Regions from separate parts of the Homo sapiens genome. Here regions 1 and 2 are each linked to region 3. Evidence: promoter capture Hi-C in 16 types of primary human blood cells and fetal thymus (Javierre and others, 2016). All regions are on one chromosome and are shown on one strand. The core of a region is centred on a gene start or on the middle of the fragment in contact, and the rest is flanking DNA. Distances in the headings are between cores, read along the strand shown. Region 1 overlaps KCNK10 (potassium two pore domain channel subfamily K member 10). Region 2 has its middle 12 kb from the start of KCNK10-AS1. Region 3 holds the start of GPR65 (G protein-coupled receptor 65).

Region 1 (3,895 bases), core at 80-2,579, 250 kb after region 3:
TTTTATTGTTTTTTAATCGCTAGAGCCAAACATAGCACCTGCTTCATTATAGGTACTAAGTAAATATTAGTTATATAAATGAATACATTGTATTGTGATAAGTAATAAGAGCAATTGTAGGAACGAGACACCATCAAAATCTCATTATTCCATAATGTATACAGCCACACTCTAAAGGAGAACAAACCCATGCACATTTGGAAAAAAATGCAGTCACAGGAGCATTCACTTCTGGGTTTTGGTTTTATTTTTATGGGAGTTTTTTTAGAACATTGAATTCTCATTTGCAAATTCATTTTCCAGTGGCATGCCAATTTCCATTACCTCTTTAATTTCTGGCTTAAAAGCTTTAGATCTCCTTCACTAAACAGTGATGAAATCAATAACCCCAGGGATAGAAACAGTAATAATAATGACTCGGAGGCCTGTAGACACAGGCTGGGGGCTGCAGGCCTGATCTTGCACACATTGAAGCATCTTTTGCGTGACTGCCTTGCTGGTGAAAGGGCAGCTCTTCTAAATTCAAAGCAACAGCCAGGAGGAGTCACTTCAACTCAGAGTTGTGCCCCTGGGCTCAAAGAACCCGAACCTGCACTCTCCAGAGCTCACCTGCTGCCTGAGCTGCTACCTAAACTTCCTGGACTAAAGACTGCTTGAAATAGGGGATGGCCCAGGGCAGACAAACAGAGGGCTGCTCTAGATCTGCACTCTGAAGTCACAACAAGGATTTCCATGAACATCTCAGGTGCCGTGCTTTCCAACACGCTGCTTTCCTAAAAATTCTTATGTCCCTAAATAGGGAAATACGTAAAGCTTCGACGGCTATAGATACCAAGGGAATCTGCTCATGCATAAAGAAGACAACAAGGTGAGTTTTTGTCTTAGCTGGGTGTGGTGGCACACCCCTGTAGTCCCAGCTTCTCAGGAGGCTGAGACAGAAAAATCACTTGAATACAGGAGGCGGATCCAGAGAAGTACTATTGACAACCAGACCAAAAAGAAAAGACTTGTAAAACAGAAACAAAAGAATTTTTTGCTTTCCTTCTGTGAAAGTTCTAAATGAAGGGCTCTTGGTCTTCAAACAGATACAAAGGCTGGGCACAGTGGCTCATGCCTGTAATCCCAGCACTTTGGGAGGCCGAGGTGGGCAGATCACAAGGTCAAGAGTTCAAGACCAGCCTGGCCAATATGATGAAACCCCGTCTCTACTAAAAATACAAAAATTAGCTGGGCGTGGTGGTGCACACCTGTAGTCCCAGCTACTAGGGAGGCCGAGGCAGAAGAATCGCTTGAACCCAGGAGGTGGAGGTTGCAGTGAGCTGAGATCATGCCAAGGCACTCCAGCCTGGGAGACAGAGCAAGACTCTGTCTCAAAAAAAAAAAAAAAAAAAAAGAACAGACACAAAAAGCACCATTCCTTCATTCCTCAAGCCTTTAGCATTTTCTATTGGCCAGCCACTGTGCCAGGCAGAAGGGATATATTGATAAAAGACATAGATTCAACTTCAAAGAGCTCACAGTCATGGAAAGAGGACAGAGAAAAGTAAAGGTCATCCAAGAGAGTCTAGCAAATGGGGGGCAAATGGTGCCAAGCAGGACACGACCCAACATAAAGGGCCCATAAAGGCTTCCCCCAAGAGTTGAGTTTTGGCACCACTGAGGACAATTGAGTTCAGAACTCCAGAGCAAAACACTTAGCAGAGTGCCACAGTTGCCACTCCATAAATGTTTAGTTATTGAATTAATGAACAAATAACTTAAAACCCTTTGGGTTTATACGAAGAACCAAAATGGCAATGTACTGATTGACCAGATTATATCACTCTGCTACTGAAAACATAACTGTAAGCTTCACAGTGCTCTTAAGATAAAATTCAGAATCAGCACCTGCGTGGTTTGGCTCCTGCCTGTCTCCAGCCAAATTGCTTTCTAAGTTCCCTTTGCTAAATGCCCTTTGGCCACATTTGCTCACTTCTCTCAAGTCCTCAGCCATGGCATGTTGCTTCCTCCCATCCAGGGCCTTGACTCAGCCCTCTCTGCCTGGAATCTTTGTCCTACTAAATCAGTTCTCCTATTTGGGTGTCCCATAGCTCTAGCTCCCTCTCCTTTGCAACTTTCATCTGGCTTTTAGTTACAATTATTTGTGTAATAACATGCATAAGGTTTGGCTCTCCCACTGTCTATAAGTAGGGTCACTATATATTTTATATTTCAAACCAAGACACTTTTTTTTTAATATAGATGGGGTTTTGCCATGTTGCCCAGGCTGGTCTCAAACTCCTGAGCTCAAGTGATCCGCCTGCCTCAGCCTCCCAAAGTGCTGAGATTATAGACATGAGCCACCACGCCCAGCCCCAGGACACTTCTGAGAGAGAAAGGGGCACTATTAACAATTACTCCAGAACCACAAAACCTGGGACATTTGGTCATCCTAGTTATAAGCTCCAAGAAGGCAGGGACCATGTCTGTCTTTTATTCACCATTACATCCCAGCATCTAGCACAGTAGGCAATCAACAAGTTTGTTGAATGAAAGAATGAATAAGTGAGTGAGCAAATGAGTAAGTGAGTGAGCAAGTGAGTGACTCGGGTCTTGGCAGAAGGGCAGAGCCACAGCCTTGGGAAATGTTTATGGGTCATGCAAATTACCAAGGAGATTACCAACATCTCCTTGGTTATGGAGAGAACAGTTTGACAGTTCATAATATCTAGTCCTCTCATCTGCAGAATAGCAGCTTTGGTTGCCATGACAACATCAAAGGTTCATACCCAGGACCACAGCACAATACCCACTCCTCACATGCCGCTGCCCACATCTTAGACTAAATCTTTCTCCACTAAAACATGGTAGAGTCAGGCCCAATGCGCACAGCCAATAAAATGAGTCAGTAAGCCAGAGGCCAACAATCTGGCACCCCAGCCTTGTCATGCAGGCTCTCTGTATGTCAGAAAGGTTACAAATACAGGAAGAGGACAGGAGAGAGAGCTCTGCGTTAGAAGGCAAGCACTAACTGTCACAAAGGAGCCTGCTCATCATGTTGTTTGAGTGGGTTTTCCCTTCGTCAGGAGGAATTTGTCTTGATCCAATTATGTACTCTCTAAGCCCACCGTGTCAAGCCAAGGAGAGTACGATTAAGAGAGCGTGGCCTCTGGAGTCAGAGAGATCTAGCTAGACTCAAGTCCTGCTTTGGTCACTAGCTAGATGCAAGAACTTTACCCTCTGTAAAATGGGGCAGCAACAGTGGCCGCCTCTTGGTGCAATGGAGAGAGGCAAATGAAGCTAAGTAATATATGTAAACTCTCTAGCACCCAGCCAGCACAGAATCAGTGCCTAATAAATAATGCTGACTGGAAAGAGTCAGGGGAGCAGAGGATAGGGAAGGATTTGTTAAACAGGACATAATTACAGCAAGATAACAGGAATAAATTCTAGTGTTCTATACCACTGCAGGATGGACTACAGTTAACAATAATCTAGTATATAGTTTCAAATAGCTAAAAGGAGGATATTGAACGTTCCCAACACAAAGAAATGATAAATGTTTGAGATGATGAATATGCTAATTTCCCGGATCTGATCATCATACATTGTAGGTATGGAAACATCACGAGGTACCTCATAAATACATACAATTATTATAGGTCATTTTTAATTTTTTAATGAAAAAATAATAAATCTTGCCAAATAATACTCATCAAACACAGTACTGAGCAAAGTATCTGAAACTCTATTTGGAAAGGATTAAAAAAAAAATCCTTAGCCGGCACAGTGGCTCACACCTGTAATCCCAAAACTTCGGGAGGCTGAGGTGGGCAGATCACCTGAGGTCAGGAGTTTGAGACCAGTCTGGCCAACCTGGCAACACCCTGTCTCTACTAAAAATACAAAAATTAGC
Region 2 (3,945 bases), core at 391-2,890, 140 kb after region 3:
TAAACATTCACCCCTAGACACTGCTGTGGGATCAGAGCCCCACAGCCCGCCTGTCTGTATGCTCCCCTAGAGGTCTGAGCAGCGGGGCATTGAAGAATCAAGTCACACCTGCATCACATGCCTTGCGAGGGGGGACAAGGGAACTTTTCCCATTTCACTACTACCATGCTGGCTGCAGCAGGGAGTTGCGACTCAGCCTGTACACTCCATGGAGTTCCCTGGGCACCACTGCAGCAGTCCCAGGCCTCCTGGTCTATGGGCCAAGCTGCAGCTGCAGATCCAGGCCTCCTGGTCTATGGGCAGCCGCCCAAACTACAGCTGTGGGTCCGAGCCTCCCTGTGCTCTTGTGGGGAACCGGAAGCAGGCAGGATCTGCCCTCTGGGGTGCAGCTTCAGCTGCCCAACCAGCAGCTGCAGACCTGGGCCTCCCACTCCATGGAGCAGGCAGGAGCCAGGGACAATCGGGAGCTCTGCCCCTTCCAAGTTGGTGGGGTGGGAGCTCCCTGGGTGTAGCTGCAGCTGCCCTCCCAGGCACGAGACCTGAGCATCTCTGTAGTCTGCCTCCTTGGGGGTGGGAAGGCCCTCCCCACTGATGGCCCTGTTGGCTCTGGGCTGTCTGCTCCCATTGTCTGGCCTCGTTCCTCTCCTGGCACCTGCTTCCATCCTGGAGTGAGGTTGTGGCTGAGCCCTGGGGCCATTAATACCAGCAGAAGGCAGATTGATTCCTCGGTGGGAAAGGGTTGGTCTCCAGTAAGGCCCCACTTTCAGGCCAGGAGGTTGGGGGCTGGGCTGCCAGTCCCACTGACCAGAGTGGGGTCTCATAATACCTCTTCTGGACCCACCCGTGGCTGCCCATGGATCAATCAGCAGACACTTTTTCCCCTCTGAGGTCCATAAAAGCCCAGGGCTCAGCCAGAGTAGGGCACAGGATGGCCTGAGTCAGAGAGACAACTGCAGAGGAGGACCAGCTGCAGAGAGGAGGTACCCTCTCTGCTGAGATCAGGAGAGACATCAGGATGACCAGTGAGCAGAGAGGAGCTACCCTCTCCAGGGCCTCTGCTCTGCTGAGAGCTGAACACTCCACAGGACAACCAGCCTATAGAGAGGACTTATCCACTCTAGGCCTCCTCTGAGCTGTTCTAACACTTTATAAAGCTCATCTTCATTTTGTTCACCCTTCACTTGTCACTCTTCATTTATCTATATACCTCATTCTTTCTGGATGTAGGACAAGAACTCAGGCAAACGCACCACTGGCGACAGAGGTTTCTGGCCAGAAAATTGATGCCCCAAAGATCCCATAACAGTGTGGTTTCTTGTGGAAGCCAAAGAGAGCTAAACTGCTTTGCTTAATGGAGCAACCAGAATCTTGGAGCTGTCTGTAGATGCCACCAGTTTGGGGAGTAGTGGGTGGAGTAGGGATCTTAGAAGAAATGGATGAGGTGGACAAGTAGTAAGGAAAACAGGAATGAAGGACACCTAGGGAGAGTGCCAGTTAAGTCCCCATAGCCTGAAATAATTTATGAATTTTGTTTTCTATTCTATGCAGTGACAAAAGCCCTTCTGTTAACCCAAAACCTTCAGCTACAGAAACAGAAGTAGCTTTTTCACTCTGGGATGACAAGAGCAAAAAACAAAGAGCTACAAGGTGCCAGGAAACTGAAAAAGGGAATTCAGTAGGATCAGGAAAATGGATAAATGAAAGAACTGGAGAAATTCAAGGCTCATAAGAAGTCCTTGGATGCATTTGGGAAGATGCAATCTCTGCAGGGTCCAAGAATGGGGGCTCCAGCCAGGCAATTTTGTTACTATAGGAGAGAACTGTTGATCTGGAAGACAGGAAGATCCAGGGCCTGAGTTACTAAAACATGAAAGTTGCTAAGTGCAGTGAAGGTTCTCCCTGCTCCTTTCATCCAATTCTCATGTTGCTTCTGCTGTTTCAATCTAATCCCTTATCCTCAACCTTAGTCAGGGGCCCTCTTTCTTTAGTGCATTCTTCTAACATTAAATCAACATGAGGATCATTCCCTAATTTGGGAAAGACAGTGATTGGAAATCAGCATTACTCTTTTCATCCCCAAAATATCACATTCTACTCCATCCTTGGATATTAATGCCTTCCTTGCCTTCTGAGGTGCTTGTCCTTGCACCATTTCTAATCCACATATTCTCAGATTTCTCTCTTCTCCCTTTTCTTCCCTTTCTTCTTTCATTCTACTATCCTATTACTAACTATATTCAGAGCATAGGACCTCAATGTAACCTTTTGTATGACTTTCCTGTTCAATGCAATTTGATTACAAAGACTTTCATTGACTTGAAACTTCTGTCTTCCCACAGACCTATTAAATGGTGAAAACAAAAAAGATTGATCTGGTATCTAATGCTGACTTTCTTTTAGAGTATGTAGGGGAACATTACTGAAACAACCATTTATCTTTTTCATTCTAAGGCTTTGTCCCCTGAATATCTGACATTCAGGCTGTCTAATGACTATACAGACTGGATGGGGCTAAAAGTCACCAATTCAGGGCAACTTTTATGTCTGAAGTCTTGATACATGTTTTTTACCAGCCTACCCCAGCTCTTCTCTGAAGTACTTCCATAAGCCTGTCATTTCTAAATATTCTGATTCATCTAGGCAAGGTAGATTCCACAGAATTCAGGGCTGAAAATGATATAATCATAAGTGTCAGGAAAGACTGAAAACCCAATATTGCTCTGAATAAAATCTAATTCTCCAAAATGCCCATTTGCTTGCCCAACCTGAAACCCAGCATGACAGTTTTACTTCTGTAGTCAAGGCACAGAAGCAATATGAGAGTGTCCCCAAAAACTGTTCTGGTGTCAGGCAGACAAGGATGCTGCCACTTCTTGAGCTGTGTTTACCTTGGGTGGGTCTACTTATCCTCTCTGAGCATCGGTTTCTGCATCTGTAACACTGAAATAATTAGTCTTCTTGCCAAAGTTTGTATAAAAATTGAATTATATGTGTCAGGTGCCTAGCTGAGTGTCAAGCAATGAGTGGCTCCTTAACAAAGGTGACAGTCCCGCCCTCTACCTCCCCTCCTTCTTTCCTGCTAAATAGACTGTTTCCTTTTATCCTTTGACATAAGGGTCATTTCCTACTTTGGAAGAGAAAGAGAGAGATTAGAAATCAGCATTAGTCTCTTCTTTTCATTCCCCAAATACCGCAATCAACTCTATCCTTGGATACCGATGTAAGGAGATGACTTTAGTGCTCCAAATCCCTCACAATCAGTAAATGACCTTATCTTCTAGCAAATGGCAGGTGCAAGAGTCAATCCTTCACTAACAATGCTGTCCATAGCACATGAATTTCCAATTAGCTTTAATGGCAGTAGCGCTCTCTGGCTTCATACAACCATGATGATTTGCCGGCCTCTTCCTCCGGGAAGAATAAGTTAACAGAAACGCCAATTCCTTTATTCAAGCATTTGACAGTAGGCCTTTGGGTGTGCAGAGAAGCACAACAATTGTAGACCCCTGTGAAGCTCTGGAAAATTTGAGAATTTGTGAAAAGTAGAAGAGTAAAGTTGTTAGTGTAGTCAACCAGTCACATAATGAGAAACCCTGGACCCAGTTATTCCTAGGCAAATATGGCACAAATTAACATAAAACCAAACAGAAAGGAAATACTCTTGGTAGGAAACTTAATGGGTCAATTCAGTAAGTATTTTTTAAATTTGTATACATTTATGGGATACAAGGGAAATTTTGTTACATGGATGTATTGCATAGGGGTGAAATAGGGCTATTAGTATATCCATCACTGGAATGACTACATTGTACCCATTAAGTAGTTTCTCATCATCCACCCTCTCCAACCTCCAACCCTTCCTAGTCTCCATTGTCTGTCATTCAACACTCTATGTACATATGTACACATTATTTAAGCTCTCACTTATAAGTGAGAACATGCAGT
Region 3 (3,777 bases), core at 411-2,910:
GTTTCTTAATGATAATCTTTTTCTTTTGAAAAGCAAAATACATGAATATTAGATATGGACATGAAAATACCCTTTCCCTAAAAGCAGAAGTATAGTCTATTCAGATAAAGTAAGAGATCATCAGAGTAATGAAATACCTACGTAACAATGCACTTGTACCCCGAACTTAAAAAAAGATATATCATGTATAGAAACCACAGATAAGCAGATGTACGAAACCAAGCAAAAATGAGAACTTTGAATTACAGTCACAAGTAAACTGAAATCGTTACTTTTCATTTTTGTAAAACTTCAAGACATTTATTGTTAATTTTTTACTTTATACTTAATTTTTATTATTTCAGTAACAATATATTGATTTATAATTTACTATATGCTAAATTACTTTATAAACTATCCTGTGCTTTATAAATGTAAGGTATTAGTTTTATTATTCTCAAAGAAAGACCTACAACGGAAGTATTGAAAATCTTTACATTCCTGATATACCCTGATCAACTTCAATATGGAAAGCCTTGCTTATATACAGGCTAATCTTTTCTATCTCTGGGTAGGGAGAAAAAAACAACAAAAAAAAAACACCAGCAACAACCCTTAATGTCCTTTAACAAACACAGATTCAAAATGTCCTGATTACATCTTTAAAATTAAGTCAAATGTTTTCATCCCAAATAAATTCTGTTCTTTCAAATAATATTTTCCCTTCATTTCTAATAAAAGTTTATGAGGGCAAGATTCAAAAGTGATATTTCTGACTTTTTTATATATCAATAGTAAGAAAGTTATAGGAGCTAATTTCACTTCATATTAAACCACTTATAGATTTGGCATTAACTTTAACTTGCTAAAGTACAAGAGTTTTTATAATAACAATGTAAGTCTTAAATAAAATTTTCAAGTTTCATAAAATTATTTGTCTCAGCTAGTTAATTCAACTGGTTTTTAGCCATCTCTGTTTCCAAGAGGAGAGAATCAAAGGAGAAAATAGTTCTACAATCAAATACTATATATCTAATCCCATTAGTCTCTCAAAAAAAAAAAGAAAAGAAAGACGGTATGAGGTTGGCTACCTTAACCCCTGCCTTAAGCAGCACAATATCCATCATTAAACCCCTCAGCCTCAATTCTCCCTTTTCTGTTTTTGTCCCAGGAACTTTATCACCCTGAATCTACCTACAATATCCTCCCCTATCTCACACATCCAAATGGTTCATTCTATTTTATCTGTACCCCTCTTGAAGTACTTCTTCATTTTGCCATTGCATTACAATCATTATTAAACATGTCTTTCTCCTTTACTAGGTAAAAAAAGCTGCTTTTGGTTGATAGCCAGTTCGTATACATCTCCCCGCACACTGCTGGCATGATGAGTGAATGAATGAATGAATGAATGAATGAACAAAGAAATAAATAAAATATTTAACATATATTCCATTAAGTAAAGGGCATATAATATAATATCAGTACATACTTGTAATTAAGATGCAATGAGACAAGTGAGTTATAAAAATTACAGTACAGTAAACAATAAATAAAAACATCTTTAAAAGTATTTAAGAGACTTTTTTTGTTCAAACTTGGATAACGCACACCCTTCTCATTGAGATGCTGCTTCCTCATTGGTTTGTGCTGAAATATGAGTGCAATTTCCTGTCCCCTCAGCAGTGTTGGTTTCTCTTCTTGACTTGATGCAGGCACAGATTTATCAAGCTCCTCAGTCAACAAACACATCACCGGAAGAAATATGGGTAAGTATAAGATTAAAAAATAAAATAATATTTTAAAGTAGATAACATGCTTTGGCATAATTGTCAGTGATGTTCGCAACATTCTTCCTGGTTTAGGCTGTATAAATGTGGTAATGCAAAGCATGATAAGAGAGAAAGAAATGAGGAAGACACATGGTTTCCTCTACTTTGAGCAGTGGTAAAGGGCCAAACTTTAAATTTAGAACTAATTAGGCAAAACCATAGATATAGAAAAAGGGGGTTGTTCATACTTTATTTTCTTTTCAGGAAACAGTGCTTTGGCAAACTTCATTCAGTATTAGGAAGAAGCCTACCAGCCCCTGGCTTTAGAGCTATCTGGCACCAATCCCTCATCTGTACAATGGTCCAGTAAATACTTTTTATATCCATCAGAAAAAAATGTGATATTAGGAAAGAATATTTCCAGTATTAATAAATGTCAAGTAATAATTATTAGTTAATAAGTGACTACCACAGTGCCTGAAATATATAGTAGAGTCTTAATAAGTAACTATTAAACTGATAGATGAAAGCAAGCATTTTCTATAACACTGTAGGAAAATATTGTACTTTTGGTCATCGTCATCAATGATTTGTACTATTTTTAGATCTGTTCAAGAATAGATATACTTTAATATACTGTAGATTGTCTTTTTTGACATCTGGTAAAAATTAAAAAATTAAAAACTCACCAAAATTTCTCAGTGCTTGTTCTAAAAACAATTTTCTCAAAATTTGATTAAAGGAGGCAAAATAATATCTGAAAAGATATGTGAATACTGTAATAGGAATTATATACAGTATTCCACTAAAATCTCAGATCCACCCAAATTAAATGAACAACTATTATCTGCAGAGCCTAGTATTATACGTGAAGTGTTACCATATAAATTACACTCTGAGCACCTCCAGCTTTTCTGCTATGCTGTGGCTAGATGACTAAAGATGATTTCTTTTCAGAAAATGTAGGGGACAGCACAAAGATTGGTGCAGACTACCAATGTCATTAAAACAATATTACCAGCTAACGTACAGTGAATGCCTCCCATGTGCTAGGAACTTTGCTTCATATGTCGTTTCATTTAACCCTCACAACAATCTTAGAAACTGGGTACTAACTTACACATGTGAAAACTGGAACTTAGAGAGGTGAAGAAACACCAATGGGCCCAGAGTGCTGTTGAGAGGCATTCGAATTGTCTCCAGAGCCCACGCTCTTAACCACAAGCCTGTACTGCCTCTGCGTCACTACAAAGAAGAGGGCCTCTGCTTCATCAACCCATCCTGTCTTGTGGTTAAGTCAAGGCAGGAAATGCTTTTACAGCTAGAGAAATGTATTCCATTGAAAACTTTATAAACCTTTCTAAAAATCATTTTTTCATTTAATCTGTCATACCATTTTTAAAGAAAATGATGACTATCTATTGAGTAACACGGACAAAGGAGGAAGAGGCACATGCTGCCCATTACCCGACTTTCTCGGTCCTGGTCTTAAGGGGAGGATGTTTTCATGGTTCAGGTGTTCTTCCCAAGACACATGAGCCTGGTGTTGGACGTGTTGTGTGTGCATCAGAGTCCCATCCGCGGGGGCTGATTCAATCTTCCTGCATCGCAGACATTACCCTAGTGTCCTTTTCCTACTTCAGTTATATCCTTTAGAAGTTTCTTTAGTGGGGATTTTGGATGTAAATGTTCTGAGTGGTAGTTTACCTGAAAATGTCCTAATTCTTGCTCTGGTCCTTGAAATTTAGTTCTGTTGAGTATATAATTATAGGATGACATATATTTTCTTAGCAATTTGGAACTTTTAATCTTCTGCTGTCTGTTATCGCTGTTGAGAAGTCTTTTGTCCGTCTAAATTCCATCCTTCATAGGTAGTCCATCTTTCCTCTCTGGCTCTTTTTTCCTTAGTCTTTGGTGAACTGCAATTTTATTGCAATGTGTCTAAGTATAGGTTTCCATTTTTGTGTTTTTAATCCTATTTGGGATTTTCTAAGCTTCATAAATCTGCAGATTTCATGAGGATTGA

What was found. The method cuts DNA at HindIII sites, captures the fragments that hold promoters and counts their contacts. A CHiCAGO score of 5 or more calls a contact.
Region 1: a contact is called between a fragment that was not itself captured here and the fragment with the promoter of GPR65 in region 3, in 1 of 17 cell types (monocytes). The highest score is 5.0, in monocytes.
Region 2: a fragment that was not itself captured here is called in contact with the fragment with the promoter of GPR65 in region 3 in 11 of 17 cell types (naive CD8 T cells, total CD4 T cells, naive CD4 T cells and 8 more); the score reaches 11.7 in naive CD8 T cells.

Annotation. Positions count from the first base shown.
Region 1 is chr14:88,249,861-88,253,755 of GRCh38, forward strand. The region is part of intron 2 of KCNK10 (potassium two pore domain channel subfamily K member 10); the gene reads right to left. Among named protein-coding and RNA genes, the nearest start is that of KCNK10, 71 kb to the right of the region's middle. The HindIII fragment of the contact is 1,036 bases long and covers 812-1,847 here.
Region 2 is chr14:88,146,676-88,150,620 of GRCh38, forward strand. No RefSeq gene overlaps it. Among named protein-coding and RNA genes, the nearest start is that of KCNK10-AS1, 12 kb to the right of the region's middle. The HindIII fragment of the contact is 8,467 bases long and covers 1-3,945 here.
Region 3 is chr14:88,003,475-88,007,251 of GRCh38, forward strand. GPR65 (G protein-coupled receptor 65) reads left to right here and starts at 1,661. Exons shown (of 2, transcript NM_003608.4): 1 at 1,661-1,748. RefSeq lists enhancers at 2,076-2,245, 3,046-3,105. The HindIII fragment of the contact is 4,497 bases long and covers 1-3,743 here.